Regions from separate parts of the Homo sapiens genome. Here all the other regions are linked to region 3. Evidence: promoter capture Hi-C in human tissues and cell types (Jung and others, 2019). All regions are on one chromosome and are shown on one strand. The core of a region is centred on a gene start or on the middle of the fragment in contact, and the rest is flanking DNA. Distances in the headings are between cores, read along the strand shown. Region 1 overlaps EBF4 (EBF family member 4). Region 2 has its middle 33 kb from the start of CPXM1. Region 3 holds the start of TMC2 (transmembrane channel like 2).

Evidence for each region. Contacts are between HindIII fragments. The study calls those that stand out against the background at their distance.
Region 1: a fragment that was not itself captured here is called in contact with the fragment with the promoter of TMC2 in region 3 in 1 of the 25 tissues and cell types used here (H1 embryonic stem cells).
Region 2: a fragment that was not itself captured here is called in contact with the fragment with the promoter of TMC2 in region 3 in 1 of the 25 tissues and cell types used here (liver).

The regions. Positions count from the first base shown.
Region 1 is chr20:2,732,288-2,736,372 of GRCh38, forward strand. All of the region lies in intron 6 of EBF4 (EBF family member 4), which reads left to right. Among named protein-coding and RNA genes, the nearest start is that of EBF4, 42 kb to the left of the region's middle. The HindIII fragment of the contact is 4,101 bases long and covers 1-3,859 here.
Region 2 is chr20:2,765,315-2,769,677 of GRCh38, forward strand. No RefSeq gene overlaps it. Among named protein-coding and RNA genes, the nearest start is that of CPXM1, 33 kb to the right of the region's middle. The HindIII fragment of the contact is 8,792 bases long and covers 1-4,363 here.
Region 3 is chr20:2,535,187-2,539,199 of GRCh38, forward strand. It overlaps TMC2 (transmembrane channel like 2), which reads left to right and starts at 1,387. Exons shown (of 20, transcript NM_080751.3): 1 at 1,387-1,469; 2 at 2,083-2,130. The coding sequence starts at 1,436. All of the region lies in intron 2 of LOC105372504 (a long non-coding RNA gene), which reads right to left. The HindIII fragment of the contact is 10,824 bases long and covers 1-4,013 here.

The sequences.
Region 1 (4,085 bases), core at 559-3,058, 200 kb after region 3:
TTTTTTGTATTTTTAGTTGAGACGGGGTTTCACCATGTTGCCTGGGCTGGTCTTGAGCTCCTGGATTCAAGCAATCTGCCTGCCTCAGCCTCCCAACATGCGGGGGTTATGGGCATGAGCCACCACACCCGGACTGTTATTAGATACACATGCTTATAATTGTTATTTCTTTCTGATGATAGACACTTTTATCATTATAACATGTCCTTCTTTGTCTCTCATAATTTTTATCTTAGTGTCTATTCATAAATTAGTATAGCCACTCCAGCTATCTTTCAGTTAGGGTTCACATGTTATCTCTTTTTCCATCCCTTTATTTTCAAAGCCTTTTGTACATTTGAATTTAAAGTATGTCTCACATAGACAGCATATAGTTGGATTGTGTTGTAGTTTTCTTTTTTAATCCATTCTGCCAATCTCTTCCTTTTAATGAAGCATTTCATCCATTTATATTTAATGTAATTGCTGATAGAACAGGATTTATGTCTGCCATTGTGCTTTGTGTTTTCTTTTTCTTTTATTTTTTCTTTTTCTTATTTTTTTTTGAGACGGAATTATAAAGAGTTCCCATATATCCCCTATCCCCACAAATGTGCAGTTGTCTTTTAAATTAGATAGGAAAACAAAATCATTACAAACAAAAATACATTTATGCTGTCTTTTATGTTTACCTATGTAGTGACTTTTACCAGTGCTCTTTATCTGTTCATGTTAATTCATATTACTGTCTTGTCTTGTTTCATTTCAGACTGAAGGACTCCCTTTAGTATTTCTTGTAGGACAAACCTGTTAGTGATGAATCCTCTCAGTTTTTGTTTATCTGAAAATGTCTCAATTTCTCCTTCATTTTTGAAGTTGATCATTTTAGAAGTTGATAGTTTTGCTGGACATGCAATTTTTTGGTCGATAGTTGTTTTCTTTTAACACAATATATCATCTCACTGCCTTCTGTCCTTCATGGTTTCAGAAGTTATGTGGTGATCTTATTAAGGATTCCTTATATATGACGAGTTACTTCTCTCTCTCTCTCATTGCTTCTCAGATCCTTTCTTTTTCTTTGGCTTTCAAAAGTTTGAGTATGATGTGTCTTTGTATAGATCATACACTTTGTGTTCATACTACTTGGAGTTTACTGAGCTTCTTAAGATGTGCTCAATAATGTTTTTCATTACTGAGCACATTTAGGAAATTTAGGGGCATTTTCTTGAATATTTTTCTGTCCTGTTCCATCTCTACTCTCCTTCTCAGATTCCCATTATACATATACTGGTATGCTTGATGGCTCCCACAGGTCTCTTAAGCTCTGTTCATTTTTCTTCATTCTTTTTTCTTTCTGCTTCTGAGCTAGATAATCTCAATTGGCCTATATTCAAGTATACTGATTTTTTTTCGTCCCACCAAATGAGATATGTTGTTGAGTTCCTCTAGGTCAGGGGTGTCCAATCTTTTGGCTTCCGTGGGCCATATTGGAAGAAGACTTGTCTTGAGCCACACATAAAATACATTAATACTAGCGATAGCTGATGAGAAAAAAAAAAAAAAAGCAAAAACATCTCATAATAAGAAAGTTTACAAATTTGCAGGCTAATTCAAAGCCAACCTGGGCTGCATGTGCCCCGTGGGTCGCAGGTTAGAGAAGCTTGTTCCAGGTATTTTTAAATTTTACTTATTGTTCTTTTCTACTTCAGAATTTCATGGGTTTTTAAAAATATAATTTGAAATCCTTTATTGATTTTTTTGGTGTGACTTCATTCTCATACTTTTCTTGAATTTTTTAGACATAGTTTCCTTTAGTTCTATGAACATATTTATAATTGCTCATTTAAAGTCTTTATCTATGCCAGCTGCAGTGGCTCACTCCTATAATCCCAGCATTTTGGTAGGCAGAGAAGGGCAGATTGCTTGAGCCTAGGAGTTTGAGACCAGCCTGGGCAACATGGTGAAACCCTGTCTCTACAAAAACCTACAAAAATTAGCTGGGCATGGTGGCTCATACCTGTAGTCCCAGCTACTTGGGAACTAAGGTGGGAGGATCACTTGAACCTGGGAGGTCAAGGCTTCAGTGAGCCATGATCACACCACTGCACTTCAGCCTGGGCAACAGAGCAAGACCCTGTTCCAAAAATAAATTAATTAATAAAGTATTTGTCTAAAAATTCTAACCTCTGGGCTTCCTCAGGGATAGTTCCTGTTGGCTGCTTTATTACAATGTATGGGTCTTACTTTCCTGTACCTTGCATGTCTCATAATTGTTTGTTGAAAACTGGACATTTTAATCATATAATGTTGCACTCTGGCAATCAGATCCTCCCTCCCAATTTTGTTCTTATTGCTATTGCTGTTTGTTTGTTTAGTGATTTTCTTGGACTAATTATATAAAGTCTATATTTCCTGTCATGTATAATCACTGAAGTTTCTGCTCTTGGCTTAGTTATCAGGCCATGATTGGACAGGCATTTCTTTAAATGCCTTGAATGCCAATAAGTGTTCAACCCATTGCCAAAAGGTTCTGTATGTGTGTTAAGACATGCCTTCAGTGCTCCAGCGATTTACAACTCTGCCTTGACCTTCACTTCCTGCTTGCTCAGGGCCTTGGGATAAACCAGAGGTGAGAGACCAGGGGCTTTCCATGCCTTTTTTGGGCATGTGCCTCTCCCTGCACATATGCATAGCTTTCTAGATCTCCAGGAATATGTCAGAGCTTTTCAGAGCCCCTGTGAACATCTTATTCCCCACTTTTTCCTTTAAAATATTATGGCCAAACTTTTATTTGCCCCCAACTTGTATTGCTGCCTCATGTAGCTGCAATGTTAAGCAATTGCCGCTGGCTGTTTTCAACAAACACCCTGAAGATAGGGTCTTTCCCACTAAGTAAGTTCTGAATCGGGTCAAATAACAAGTTCTGCAAATAAAGCTGTCAGGGAGTTGCTAGAAAGGTTAAAGAGTGAAAACTGACTGGGAATACAGCTTGTTGAGAGGCTCCAAACCCACTCTACCCCTTCCTATGGTTGCTAGCTTGCTAGTTTTCACAACTACAATAGTGGTTGCAAGGTAGCTGGTCTTCAACAGGGCTGGGGAGTAGGGGATGGGAATAGGGCAAATTAAAACACCACAAAGCTTTCTGTTCTTATTACAACTCAGCCATTTTTCTTGCCTCAATGTTCCTTGAGTTGTTGCACACATGTTGTTAATTTTTAGAGTTCTGAGAAAGTTGATTTTGACCATGTTTGCCAGTGTTCTTGTTTCTTTATGGAAGAATGGATTTTCAGAGGTCTTTACTTAGCAATTCCCAAAGTCCTGTCCCTGTAATTGTTATTTCTTACCTGGGCACAAGTTAAAAGTGCCTTGGGGGCTTTAGTCCAGCATTCATCCAGTCACAGTAATTTTTGACTCTTGAATTCTATCATGAATCAATCAGCACCTGTTGTGGGGCTGGGACTATGATGGATGCTTGGGAGAAGAGAGGCTTAAACAATGATCCCTGCCCTCTGAGAGCTTACAGAGCAGTTGAGGAGACAAATATAATTATGTAAACAACAATTTATAATTTTGAAAAAAATTCGTGTACTTGAAGAAAGGTCAGTAGAGATTATCTATAATTACATAATAATAAGAAGAAATAGAAAACAATGTAAGGCTTGAAGACCACACTATCCAATAGTACTTTCTGCAATGATGAAAATATTCTGTACCAACCAATATGGTAGCCAATAGCCACACATATTTATTGGGCACTTGAACTGTAGCTACCGTGACTGAGGAATTGAATATTTAATTGTGTTTAATTTAAATCAAATTTAAGAAATAACACATGGTTACTGTATCTGACATCACAGCTCTAAGACTTTAAATATTTGCTTGATTGGCCAGGATGACCCTGTGGCAGGGGTAGGGAAACATACCCTCCCATGGGAGGCTCATAGCTCTTCTCTGGCTCCTAGGGATAGATAGAAGCTGGGGGCTATGGATACTCCCTGGCATTTAATTGTGCCTGCTGCCTGGTGGGTGTTGTTCAGTGACACTATTGGAATAGTTTAGGTCCGAGCCACCTGGCAAAGGTAAGCTCTGGTCTACTCTATTGGGGG
Region 2 (4,363 bases), core at 1,068-3,567, 230 kb after region 3:
TGAGATCACGCCATAGCCTGGGCAACAGAATGAGACCCCATCTCAAAAAAATTAATTGATTAATTAAATGAAATTAAAATAAAATAAATTTTAAAATCTTCACTTACACCAAAGTCAAGAAGATATTTTAGAATTTTTCTTGTTTGTGGCTTTTATATTTAGGTCCACAATCCAACTAAAATTTATTTTTGTGTACAGTGTAAGCTAGAGATCAAATTTAATTTTTTTTCATATGGTTAGCCAATTGGCCCAGCACCATTTACTGAAATGAGTATATTTTCCCCCACTTCATTGAAGTGAAATCTTTGTTATAAATCAAATGTTCATATATGTATGTGTCTGTCCTGGATTCTCTATTCTGATCCATTTGTCTTTTTATCTAGCCTTATACCCGTGCCACATTATCTTAATAACTTTAGATTTATAGTATGTTTTGCTATGTAGTATGTATGGCAAGTCATCCAATTTAATTCTTCCTTTCAAATTTTTTTATTTTTATTTTTATTTTTTTATAGAAATAGGGCCTCACTATGTTACCCAGGCTGGTCTTGAACTTCTGGCCTGAAGTGATCCTCCTGCCTTAGCCTCCCAAAGTGCTCGTATTACAGGCTTGAACCACTACACCCGGCCTGTTCAACTTAGTTCTTCACAATTATGTTGGCTACATGTGGTCCTTTTCATTTCAATACAAATTTTATACTCAGTTTATTAATTTCTATTTTTTAAACTGGCAGGCAGATTGCCTGAGCTCAGGAGTTCAAGACCAGCCTGGGCAACACAGTGAAACCCCATCTCTACTAAAATGCAAAAAATTAGCCAGGCATGGTGGCATGCGCCTGTAGTCCCAGCTACTCAGGAGGCTGAGGCAGGAGAATTTCTTGAACCCTAGAGGCAGAGGTTGCAGTGAGCCAAGATCACACCACTGCACTATAGCCTGGGCAACAGAGCAAGACTCCATCTCCCAAAAAAAAACACAAAAAAACCTGCTGGATTTTCATTGGGATTACATTAAATTTACAGACTAATTAATGGAGAATTGATGTCTTTAAAATATTGTGTGTTTCAATCTATGAATATTGTATATCCCTCCATTTATTTAGATCTTTTAAGACTTCTCTTAATAATGTTTTATAGACTTCTGTATGAAAGTTTTGCACCTATTTCATTTATTTCTATTTGATTATTTTGTGATATTATAAATAGTATCATTTTCTTAATTTTATTTGTTGTGAATATATAGAAACAATGGATTTTTGTATAATTACCTTGTATCCAGCAATCTTGCTTAGCCACTTATCCTTAGATTATCTTGAATTTTCTTAGCTACATAGTTATGTCATCTGCAAAAAAAGGACAGTTTCATTTCTTCACTTGCAGTCCTTACTTTTTTATTTTTACTTATTTTTCTTGCTTAAATGCACTGGCTGCAACCTCCAATACAATGTTGAATAGAAGTAGTGAGAGTGGACATCTTTGTTTTGCTCCTGATTCTGGAGGGCAAACTTTTAATATTCCATCATTAAGCATCGTATTTGGTTTATAGATATCCTTCTATTCCTAATTTTCTAAAAATGTTTAAAAATTATAAATAGATGCCAAAATTTGTGAAATATTTTTCTTCATGTATTAAGTAATCAAATTACTTTCTCCATTATTTCGTTAATGTGCTGAATTATATTAATTACATGTCTAATTTTAAGCCACTGCTTTAGCTAATTGTATGTTTAATTGTAAATGGCCATATATTCTTTTTTTTTTTTTTTTGAGTGCAATGGCACGATCTCAGCTCACTGCAACCTCCCCTCCCTGGTTCAAGTGATTCTCTCGCCTCAGCCTCCTAAGTAGCTGGGATTACAGGCTCACACCACCATGCCTGGCTAATTTTTGTATTTTTAGTACAGATGAGCTTTCACCATGTTGGCCAGGCTGGTCTGGAACCCCTGACCTCAAGTGATCTGCTCTCCTTGGCCTCCGAAAGTGCTGGGATTACAGGCATGAGCCACCATGCCTGGCCTTATTCTTTATACAGGGTATACCAATTATTAACACAGAGCCCATTTTCTCTTTCTCTCTCTGCACTACTCTCTAAGAAGGCACTCACTGGCCCTCGCCCTTACCCGCTTCTCCTGGAGGAGCTAGGCTTTCTGCAGACCACCTCGGTACCTCACACTGCTACACTGGCTTTGGCTACCTTCTAGGAGCAGTGGAGGGAAAAACACAAGAACAAACACAAATTAATCTCTCACTAAGTCATTCTACTTTGACTCTAACCCATCTTTTACCATTCTATTCTAACCATTAAGATTCAAACCCAGCTGGGCTCCTTAGCTCTGGGTCCCCTCTGTTGGAAATCCAGAACAGTCCTCGTGAGTCCTCTGTTCAGGAGCCCCTGACCACTCACTTCCAAAGGTGAAGATACTCAAAGCTTCCCTCCTTGCCTCACCTTGGCAGGGGGTCACAGAGTGGCAGCCTCAGGAGGGTGGGAGGTCCTGGGTTTGAAGCTGCAGAGACTGCCAAGCAGAATGGGTAGGAGGGTCTCAGAGACCCCCACTGGAGACAGAACGGAAGAGAATTCATGGCTCTAAAGATGCAGGAGAGGCTGCCTAGCAGGGCAGGAACAGCAACAAGACGGTTTTATTTGTATACATTCCTTTTTGAGTATTTTATTCCTTGAGAGAGAAGGCGCCAAGTGTTTATGGGGGAAGGAAAGCTGGCCGTCCAGTAGCAGATTTGCTGTTCCCTGGGGCTCAGCATCCCAGCATCTTCATTCTCCAAAGCCTCTCCTGCCCCTCCCCTGCCAGCCTGGGAGCGAGCGCTGCCCTGATGCACCCTCATCTGGTGGGGTGTGAGGAGGAGGCTCGGGCTAGGCTGCCGCAGCTCCGGGCAGTCATCCCATGAGTCCAGTTCCTGAAGGGCTGATTCGTGTAGGGCAGAAAAACCCTCTGGCTTGGCTCCTGCCCCTGCTGCCTCTCTGGGGGTTCCACCCATGTAGGAGCCTGCCCCCTCCACGCACCCACCCGCTCACCCAGAACTGAGTTCACCTTTAGGTGGGTGGGGGAGGCTCCAGCCACTCTCAGGCTGGCACTGCCTCAAGCCCAGCCAGCGCTGGCTTCTGTGGTGAAAGCTGGTTTGTCTGGGCTGCTCCCCAGGGCCTTCCTGGAGCTGGGCCTGGAGGCTGACCTTGCCAAGACAAACTGTGGCTGCCGGTGGAATGTGGTCGAGTGGCTGAGCAGGCCCAAACCTGGCAGGTCTGTCCATGGTGCCCCTGCAGGTTCCACAACACAGAGCCCTACAGAGTCAGGTGGGGCCAGGAGCAGGTACCGAGAGACTTCTGGGCATCTCTCTGTCCCTTGTTGAGTGAGGACGGGGCAGCATCTCTTTTGGTCTCAACTGAAAGTGTAAAAGGCTATCATCAAGTGTGAAGGTTGACAGAATTCCTCAACCCACTTCCTCTGGGAAGCAGCTGTGCAGGAGAAGACATGGTGGGGAGGGGGTGCGGGGAGGAGTGTGTGCCTGTGTGGGTGTGGGCATAAAGCAGGAGCTGCCAGGGGAGGAGAAAGAGCTCTGGCAAGACCTCTTCTTCCCTTAACACAGCCCGGTGGGATGGGGCTACGTTGCTGTTAGAGCCAGAGTTTAATTTTTTTTTTTTTGAGACAGGGTCTTGTTCTGTTGCCCAGGTTGGAGTACAGTGGCACTGTCTCAGCTCACTGCCGCCTCGACCTCCTGAGCTCAAGCAATCCTACCTCAGCCTCCTGAGTAGCTGGGACTACAGGCATGTGCCACCATACCCGACTAATTTTTCTATTTTTTGTAGAGACAGGGGTCTCACTATGTTGCCCAGGATAGTCTTGAACTCCTGCCCTCAAGCAATCCTCCTACCTCTGCCTCCCAAAGTGCTGAGATTACAGATGTGAGCCACTGTGTCCAGCCAGATCCACAATTTGTTCAGCCCATACCATCAGCCCATTATTTTAGCGGGGGTTCCCTGGACGCAGAGCCTGAAATGGGGATTTGTGTGCACATGAAAGGGCTCTCTGGACAAAAAGGAGAGAAGAAAGCAGAACAGGGTAGGGGAAAGAGCTGGGCAAGTCTCTGCAGGAGGCTAGCACAGTCCCACGCGGAGCCTAAGCATGAAGGGCACCTCAGTTGGACCCTGCCATGACAAGGAGATGCCTCTAATATCCCTGAGCCTGTCAGCCACTGGTTGGAGGCTGCCAGAGGAGAGTGGAGAGTGAAACCTCCTGGGCAAAGCAGCTCCCATTTGGCCAAGGACAATACTTGGGAGAAGGGGGCAGCTGTGAGCTGTCAGCAGCCAACACTCACCCCAGTTGGGGATGAGCACACTGGCTGGTAAGGATCTGGT
Region 3 (4,013 bases), core at 137-2,636:
GGGGTTTCACCATGTTGGCCAGACTGGTCCGGAACTCCCAACCCTAGGTGATCCGTCTGCCTTGGCCTCCCAAAATTCTGGGATTACAGGCGTGAACCACCACGCCCAGCCACAGACCGCTTTTCAGAACATAGACATTAAATCCATAAAATAAAACACTAGGATTACAAAGGAGACCAATGATCCTGAAATAGGCATCAAAATCACTTTAAATATCTTTCATATAATGACAATATATGCTTCCTAATTAAATAACAAGATTTCATGGCAGGTCTCTAACTATCATAATTTTGAAGTTGTGATAACATGTAAGATATTTTGAGACATCCCCAGTGGTTTAATTGGGAAAAAAAATAACTGTGACTTTTGCTGAGACAAAAATCACATCTTTGCTTACATTCATGATTGAGGGAAATGCTAAATCGCAGTTAAGGCTAGGAAAAGTGAAAGTGTAGTATTTTCTCCATCACTATTCACAAACCCACAGAATTCCATCCACAGCTCTGGGGGTTCCAGGGACTCCAGATTAAGAACTCCACACTCTGAGACCTTATGACTGCCTTCCAGAGGGTCCCTCTGACACTTTAGTGATGGTTTTCAAAGCAGCCAAATCTGTGCCTCCCTGAAGCCAGGGAGGAAAAGCTGCTGAGGGAGGGGGCGGGGGCTGAGCGGGAACATTCATCTGTGTGGGCTCAGGACGCCTGCAGCAGGATCCACAGTGCAGGCTCCCAGGGCCTGGCACAGACTGACTGATTCCAACGCCCAGTGCCACTCCTGGGAGTATGCATTTTATTTTTAAAAATTTATTATTATTATTTTTCTTTTTGTGGAGATGGGGTCTCACTACGTTGCACAGGCTGGTCTTGAGCTCTTGGGCTCAAGCAATCCTCCTGCCTCTGCCTTCCTAAGTGCTGAGATTACAGGTGTGAACCACCACATGCCAGAATCTGCATTTTAAACAGAAGCCCAAGTAATAACTTAAACAAACATTCTAGAATTTCCCTGGTGCTTTGTCCCAATCAGGGACTCAAGATAGTGGGAGAGGGCCTGGGATGCTCCTCACACCTCCTCTGGCTAGAGTGCCAGCGGCATCATTGCCAGGAGATAAGCCTGCAGCTCCTGGCCCCTCCAGGGCCCCTCATGTATAACTGATGCCTGAAACATGAGGCCATGCTGCCTCTTTGCAGGGAAACCTGAGAAGAGGAGTGTGTGGCCGGATTGATGGGCCGGGAACTCGTCGCCTTCCTTCACCCGTCTCTCTCCCCCAAACTTCACCCACCTCCACATTCAATCTCAAACCAAGAAGCCCCGCCTGCTGTCAGGTCTAGGAAGGGAGGCCAGCCACCATGAGGGCAGGAAAGCAGCCCAGGCTGAAGGCGTGCATACAGGAGCACGCTGCGTGAGCCTGTGCAGGACCCCAGCAGTGCTGCTGACCATGAGCCACCAGGTAAAGGGCCTGAAAGAGGAAGGTGAGTCCACGTCCTGATCCTGCGGGGCCCGCCCACAGGGTTCCTGGGCAGCAGCAGGGGATGGGGGAAGCACATATGGTGTTCAGAGGCATAGGGAGGAGCTGGGTTTGAGTCCAGGGCCTGTCCCCTGTGCGCTGAGCGACCTCGGCTGGTTATTCAACCTCTCTGATCCTCACGCATGAGATGGGGGTAGTCATCACCTCCTTGCAGGGCTACTGGAAGGATTCAAGACAACCTGTGCACAGCACCTGTGTTCAGGCCAGCACTGGAGACTGTCACGGCCGATGCATGCTCCTCAGAGCCTGCTGGGGCGTCTCAGCCACCTATTGTCTCGGTTAGGGTTGCCTGTTCCGAGCAAGCCCCTCAGCAGATTTCTATCTGTCTCTGTCTCTGTGCAGGGCAGGGGGTGGGGGATGTTCTGACCTCATGACTGACAGTATCAGACAAATGTGACAGGCAGGGGACTCTATAATTTGCTGAGTAAAATCATTGGAGCTGGGTCCCAGTTTGAGGCAGCCACAAATCAGCTGAGGGGTCCCACAGTGACCGGGGGTCTGCAGGGAGGGGGACTCACCAGAGGCCAGCCATTTGTCAGCAATCCTGTCTCTTACAGCACGAGGCGGAGTGAAAGGGCGGGTGAAGAGCGGCTCTCCACACACAGGTGAGATGGGGTGGTGGGGTCTCTGGGGAGCCTGCAGTGCCTGGGTGCCCTCTGCTTAGCCCAACAGTCCAGCCACCCATCCAACATTCTCCTTCATCTCCTTCCCTCTCATTCAACACCCTGCATGGAGCCTTCCTGGGAGGCAAGGTGTTTAACATGGGAGGGGGCAGAGTACCACTCAGAGAAGGTGCTGCTCAGCCCTCGGTGTCAGGGGAGACTCCCAGGGTTAGTGACACTCTGAGCTGAGCCTTGGGAAGCAGTGAACATTCACCAGACAGAGGGCAGGGAAGCTCGGTGCAGGCTTCTGGCGGGTGGTGTGGCCAGATTCACATCCAGGCCCCCGGACTCTAGGAGGAACACTCTTAACCTCCAAAAAGTAGTAGGCATAATGGGTGCTCCATCACCTTCCCACTGGGAATGTGACCACAGCTCTCCCGTGAGCCGGTGAGGGAGCCAACTTGCTCCAGGAGAAGTGGGAGAGCCCAAGGAAGCCATAGGCGGGAGAGAAAACCCTTGGTTGAGACTGAGGGTTCAGGGGAGAGGGGCAGAAGCCACACTCACAGGCTGGGCATCTTCATGTCACAAAATATTATGGATGCGATGCTGTTTTCTCCCCCTTCACGTCCCAGGCAGGGCTGGGTCCTGCGCCCCACACTAGTAGGCAAGAAACCAGAATCTTGGGGAGTGATGGGGTTCTGGGGGGTTGGAAGAGATCTCCTTCCTCCCCCATTCTGGGAGGGAGGGCCCTTTCCACTCCCTCCTGTGGGAGGGCCCTGTCCTGGCCCCACTCTGGCCAGTAGGGAGCTGGCCCCAGGAGCCACTTCATCTGCCCTTTCCGCTCCTGTGACCCGCTGCTGTCTGGTTGTCGGGAGCCTGAGCTTCAGTGAGGCCGCTGTGTTACAAGGGGAGAGACCCAGGAGCAGGAGGCAAGGAAGAGCTGGGCAGAGGCTGGCAGGGGGTGCAGCCATGGCATCTCAACAGCCCTTCCTGGCCCCTATCCCGGAACTTGCCTCAGCCACTGTCCCTTCTTCCTACCCCACCTGCCTGCCTCATCCACTCTTTATCTCAATCCAAAGATGAAGGAGCAAATGTGAGAAAGTTCTATGCCCCAGGGTGGCCAGACGAGAAACCTTCCTCCCGGGGGTCGGGCCACGGTGCTCCCGTAGTGACCACTGCCTGTAGGATGCTCAGGCTGGTTCTCCACACCCCACTCCCCTCGTAGTCATCCAGATGCCGTCCCTTCCGCACCCAGCCTGGCCTCCCTCTGCCTCTGCTGCAGGGCTGTGCTGTGCGGGACTCCCCTGTGAGCAGTAGTCCTTAGTAGGACTGAAATGGAAGACCATTTTGCCTACAACACAAACCCTTTCCTACTGAAATATTCCACGTTGCCGCTGCCGTTTTCCCTTTCCCATAGAACACAGGAAATTGGTCAGAATTTTCACTTCACAGATCTAAGTGGTGAAGGGGTGCAGTAAAGTTAAACATTGGGAATATATTGAATTAACTGAAACCCAGCCCCATGAAGGTTTCCATTTTAAATCTCCTCTGGAGTCACCTGCGACGGGACCTGATATTCTCATCCTTCCCTTTATACTCTACCAGGAGGGAATAAAAGTTTAAGAATACAATGTTCTTTTCTCAGAATAGCTACAGTTTGTTACTGTGTTCCTTGAAAAGAAGGATGAGAACTCTCCCTCCTCCTGTATCATTTGGTAAGTGCACTGAACTGTTGAGATCACGGGACTGGAGGGCTGCCGCAGCCTCTCCTCGGCCTGTGTTTTGCACTGTGAATTCTCTGACCGAGTCAGGTGCTACATAGGAGGAGGCCTGTTACATTTAGGAGAGCGTGTGCTGGGCTTGGAGGCCTTCCTAGCAAGACAGCT